Linked DNA regions of Homo sapiens: region 2 is linked to region 1. The links are contacts of gene promoters, found by promoter capture Hi-C in human tissues and cell types (Jung and others, 2019). All regions are on one chromosome and are shown on one strand. The core of a region is centred on a gene start or on the middle of the fragment in contact, and the rest is flanking DNA. Distances in the headings are between cores, read along the strand shown. Region 1 holds the start of TTC34 (tetratricopeptide repeat domain 34). Region 2 holds the start of ACTRT2 (actin related protein T2).

Region 1 (2,700 bases), core at 17-2,516:
AAACTGCCCCCACTGCATTACCCGCACAGGCCTTGGGCCCTGGTGAATGTCATGGAGCTGAAGAACTGGGCCAGGCAGCCCCAGCCCTGCTGACCCCCCTGCCCTGCACCCTCAGACTGACCCTGACTGCTCTGCCCACGCTGCAGGGGCTCCACACCCTCCCCAAAGGGCCTGCGGGGCATGTCTCAGGAGACCCAGACATCGAGGGGATCAGGGATGCCACCCCCCACTCCCAAGATCTCCTCCCCCAAAGGGCACCCCCAACCCTGCTTCCCTGAGCCCCACAGAGGAGCCAGCATTGGCCTGGTGTCCGGGCACCTTGGCATCCTGAATTGGGAGGGACCTCTCTCAGGGACGCACCACCCCCATTCCCCCCACTCATGCCTGCCCTCCAGGGCAGCTGCCGGTGGTGGGGTCTCAGCTTCAGGGACCTGAGCCTGCCTCCAGCCACCCCACTCAGTCTTTCTGCTCCTGCGGCATGGGCTGACGGTGGCCACGGGCTGAAGGTGATGTTTCCTAAAATAGTCCCTATGCTGCCACCCCTTCCTCAGCAACAATCAGGGTCCCTGGGCAGTAGGCTCAGGTCATGGCTCCCAGAGCTGCCTCTGGGCCTCAACCCTGTGATGGGGGAGGGGTGTGCCCTCGGCTAATGTGCCCTGCCCTCCCCAGGGCACAGCTGGCTCAGCTGGTGCAGGCAGGACAGGGCTGCCTAAGCCTCTCAGAGGGAGGACGGCCAAGGGAAATGGGCTGGCTGTGCACGGAAGGTCCAGTCCCAGCTGCCGGCACAGGGAACAGCCTGTGGGGAGGTGCCCCAGGACCGGGTGACAGGGCCCTGCCAGAAGAGGAGTGAGGCTGGGCGGTGAGGGGCCCGCATAGCAGCCCAGGCGGAGTTCTGGGGGACAAACCCAGAGCCTGAGTGCACTGGGTGGGCAGGCGGCCCCCACCTGCCTCCAGGAAGCGCCCTCCTCATCTATGTGGAGAGGAGGCTGGGGGCACCCTGGCAGAGCAGGCAGGGTGGAGGCTGGCCCCGGCTATGGGGGGCTGTACCCCACAGGCCCCTTCTCCCCCAACACCCCCATGAACTCAGGGTTCTCTGCTCTGAGGCAGCCCATTGGAGCCTGGCTGGGGCAGTGTGGGTGGGACCTCGGCCTGGTAGCCTCTGGCCACAGCGGGGCGCTGCAGGACAGCCAGGAGACCCAAGGGTGTTGACACTCTCCCGGGAAACCGCAGGCTGTGCCTTCCCCAACCCACACGGGGCGGTCATAGGAGCCCCACCCAGGCCTGGGCCCTCCAGCCAGCCACATCCCTCTGTCCCCCACCACCCACGAGGGAATCTGGGTCCCCAGGGCACAGCCGGCTCAGCCTCCAAGCTGCAGACGAGTGTGAGTGTGTCTGTGTGTGTCTGAGAGCGGATGCTGGGGGCTGCCTGTTTGATGAGGGAAGAAAGGGCTGTGCGGAGCTAGTTCGTCAGGTCAAGTAGCTTGGGGACAGGGAATAGGGGAGTACCAGGGGCTGTCCCTGGAACCTCAACCTCAAAACTGAACCCCCCCACCCATGGGCTGGGGTGGCTCCCCCGACCCAAGGGCCTGGCAGGTGCTCTCGGCGCCCCCCTCGAATGGCCCAGGTGTGAGAGGGTGGGCAGGGGTGTGGTCCTGCGTCCCACTGAGAGGGCTGCCTGGACTGACGGGGGGTGTGCCTTCCTGAGGGGCTCAGGGTTGGGAGGGGCAGAGGGTGGGTCCGGGGTTCCTATTGCTGGGCCCTGACACCTCGGGCCACCGTAACCCTCCCGACATGGACACTCAGGGGTCAGATGTTCTTAGAGGGAACTGAGCTGGGGGAGGCCACTGTCCCATTCTGCAAGGCACGAAACTGAGGCCCCAGAGGTGAACAGTGGGCTGGAAGTTGGCCTGGGACACCTGGTAGGCCCCACCCCACCAGCCCAGGATCCCCCCAGTTTTCACCCAGTGGGGTCTGCACTGACCGTGGGGTCAATGGGAAGGGGTGGAGGTGGCTTGAGGCTGGGCACGGGTGGCCACAGGGCAGGAGAACTGGCCGCCCTCTGTGGACTCACCATGCTCCCCCACCCCCAGGTACTCTGAGGACCAGACATGGGCCCGTCGGGGTCCCAGACATGATGTCAGCCCAGGAGCTCGTGGCCTGCCTCTGCCGGGAGGGGGAGCAGCATCTGGCGCTGGGGGAGCTGCCCCTGGCCACCGCCTTCTACCTGGCTGCATTCAGCTGCCACGCCCCCTCAGCCCTGCAGAGTGTGCGCACTGCCCTGGCCCAGGCTCGGGGGGCGGCGGTGGTGGCCACCCTGGAGTCCTGGTGCCGCGGGGACAGCCAGATCCCCGCCATCCACTGGGACGGCATGGCAGTGGTCTCCCTGACAGGGTCGCTGGCCTCTGCCTTCCTCGGCGCCCTCTGCCCGGACCACCCCGCCGCCATCCTGCACCTGCTGGCAGGTCTGCTGGCCCGCGGGCGTCACGAAGAAGTGGTGCAACGCTGCAGCGCCCTGCTGGACTCTCATGCACAGCAAGTCCTGGAGCTGCGGCTGACCCGCGCCCTCGCCTGGGTCCTGTCCGGGGTGCAGGCAGCGGATGGTGTGGCCGCCTATCTCCAGGCCTTCGCCTCCAGCGCCGACCGGACGGTAGCTTTCATTCGCACCCACCAGCGGCCCCACCTCCCCGCGCTGCTCAGTGC
Region 2 (2,700 bases), core at 189-2,688, 220 kb before region 1:
GTTCCGGCATTGGTCCTTTATTGAACATCCTCCCAAAGCTGGGGCTAGGGTTCACCCCCCACGGTACCCAACGAGAAGCGGCCTTCAGAAGCATCTTCTCTGCACCACGGAGGTCCCAAACTCCTTGAAGTCTGCGGCGGTGACCCACATCTGCTTGAAGCTACTCAGAGAGGTGACGATGGAGGCTCCAATCCAGGTGGAGAACCACCGGTCGGGGGGAGCCGTGATCTTGATGGGGGTGTCCTTGGAGGCCAGCTGCTCCAGCTCCTTGAGAAGCCGGTCATCCAGCCCGTGGAACAGGGTAGTGCCCCCCGACAGCACAATCTCCCCAAAGAGGATCTTCTGGATGTCGGTATCACACTTGGTGATGCTGCTGGAGACCATATTCGAGAGCCCGGGGCTCTGGCTGCCCAGCTGCTGGGGCACGAACAGGGCCTCGGGCGCCTGGTGCAGCGGGTCCCCGAGGCTGATGATGTTCCCGTCGGGCAGCTTGTACTCCCTCAGGACCTCCTCCGGCCTCCGGGAAAGCTCCTTCTCGGGCTCCAAGGCCACGTAGCACAGCTTCTTTTTGATGTCGTCCACGAGACCCTTGTCCAGCTGGCAGGGGAAGGTGTGGCCGCTGGCCAGGAGCAGCTGCATGAGGAGCTCCGTGATGTCCCTGCCCGCCACGTGGAGCTTGGTGACTGCGTGGGGCAGGGAGTAACCCTCAAAGATGGGGACAGTGCAGGTGACCGCATCCCCGCTGTCCACCACCAGGCCCGTGACACAGGCAGAGGCGTAGAGAGCCAGCACCGCCTGGTCCGACAGGTAGAAAGCGGGCACGCCGAAGTTCTCGAACATGACTTCTGCCATCTTCTCACGGTTCTCCCTGGGGTTCAGGGAGGGCTCCGTTGCAAGCAGGGGCTGGTCGCTGGGTTTCACGCCTAGCTCCCACTCAAAGAGGTGCTTCCAGAGTCTCTCCACGTCATCCCACCCTGTGATCAGGCCACGCTCGAAAGGGGAGTGCAGCTGCAGGGCCTCCTGCTTGTACAGGGCCTCCTCCCCCACAAAGTACTTCTTCTGGTTGGCCTCTGCTGAGGGAGCCTGGAATTTCAGGTGCCCCACGATGGAGCTGACCATGTGCCGGGGTCCAAACTCCCCAGACAGGCCCGCTTTGCAGAACCCCGAGCCATTGTCAAAAATCACAGCCGGGGAGTCTAAAGCGTGCGGATTAAACATGCCCGCAGCCTTCCCTTCTCAGCCTCATCAAAATAAAGACCAGCCCTCCAGGGCCGCTTTGTGATGCAATAGGGGATCCCACAGCTCTTCCCACAGCTCTCGGGGTGTCTCAAGGCAGGGCTAGCACCGTGCCCGGGAGCCCTGCATCCTCAGCCGCAGGTCTGCTCTCCCTCCAGGTGGCCTGGGCCTGCTGAGGCCTCTTCCAGGGGGCCAGGGGGTTGTCTCCTAGGTAACAATCTAGCCAAGGCAACGATTGTCCTGAGCCTCAGAGGCCCTGGGGGTGGGGCTCTGAGTCCCCCATCCCCCACAGGGTGAGGTGAGAGAGAGAGAGAGAGACAAGTGCATCCTAGGGCGGTGCTGGACAAGCCTGTGGGCTGAGGCAGAGACTTAGCTTTAGAGTGGAGAGAAGCAGCCCAGCCTGCGTGCACCCTAGAAAACCAGCTTCTCTGGCCCCTGAGCTGCAACTTCTGGGGTGACAACACTTCCCTTTGCTAAGGGGGAAAACCAAGCACCAGGTCGGAGGGGTGTTGTAAGCAGTTCTGTCCCAGCAGGCACTTAGAATGTGCTTTTGAATAGTGATTCCCCCAGGAAGCTCTCAGGGATTTCTCCTCCCTCCATCCCATTAGTCCTGGCTGTCTGTCCCACTGGGTAGACCCTATTCAAAGCCCTCTGGGCTGCTGGCCCTTTGTCCAGGAATACATCTCTGCTCTGGCTTGAGGCCAGCACCCCTCATTCCTCTCTGCAGACTCTGAAGTGCCAGCACACAACAAAGTCCAGCAGCCATAGAGTTGGGAACCCAACAGCCCTGAAGATATGGCCTGCTGGTTTCACATGGGTAGCCTGGATTGCAGCCTGTGACACCTCTCTGTGTCTATGAGCTGCCACACAGTCAGGCCACAACCACAGAGCAATGCTCAGAGGTGACCAGGCCATTAAAGGTCAAGGCCTGAGCATGACCAGGAAGGAGGCACCGGGCCAGGCCAAGGGCACCCACAACAGTGCACGCCCGGCACTCAGACCCCCGCTTTGTCTTCCGCTTGGGGAGAAAGTGGGAGGGGATCCAACCTGGGAACCAGCTTCACTTTTTTCCTAAGGAGGTTGGAGGTGGCCTTGGAGAATGTGAGGTTTATTCTACCTCTCCTGTCATATCCACAATCATGCTCCAGCCCAGCTTGGCCCCCCAGAGTTCTCCCAGAGGACGCCTCCCGGGGTCACTCCCTTCCTGGAGCCCCTCAGCTCCTGCTGGTGGCCCCCTCTGTGTGTCCTGCCTGCCCTGCTGACCCACCAGCAGGCATTAATCCGATGGTGGTGTAGACACATGTTGTAGATGGGCAGTCTAGACACGTGGTACAGACATGTGGTGTAGACACGAGGTACAGACGCATATGGATGTGCCGTGTAGATGCATGGGATAGATGGGTGGTGTAGACACGCGCGGTACACTCGTTGTTGATGTGTGGTGTAGATGTGTCTTGTTGACAC

What was found. The method cuts DNA at HindIII sites, captures the fragments that hold promoters and counts their contacts. A contact is called where the count stands out against the background at its distance.
Region 2: the fragment with the promoter of ACTRT2 here is called in contact with the fragment with the promoter of TTC34 in region 1 in 1 of the 25 tissues and cell types used here (H1 embryonic stem cells).

What each region holds. Positions count from the first base shown.
Region 1 is chr1:2,800,259-2,802,958 of GRCh38, reverse strand. It overlaps TTC34 (tetratricopeptide repeat domain 34), which reads left to right and starts at 1,266. Exons shown (of 9, transcript NM_001242672.3): 1 at 1,266-1,382; 2 at 2,091-2,700. The coding sequence starts at 2,132. The HindIII fragment of the contact is 12,605 bases long and covers 1-2,700 here.
Region 2 is chr1:3,020,205-3,022,904 of GRCh38, reverse strand. It overlaps ACTRT2 (actin related protein T2), which reads right to left and starts at 1,438. Exons shown (of 1, transcript NM_080431.5): 1 at 2-1,438. The coding sequence starts at 1,218. The coding sequence ends at 85. The HindIII fragment of the contact is 18,700 bases long and covers 1-2,700 here.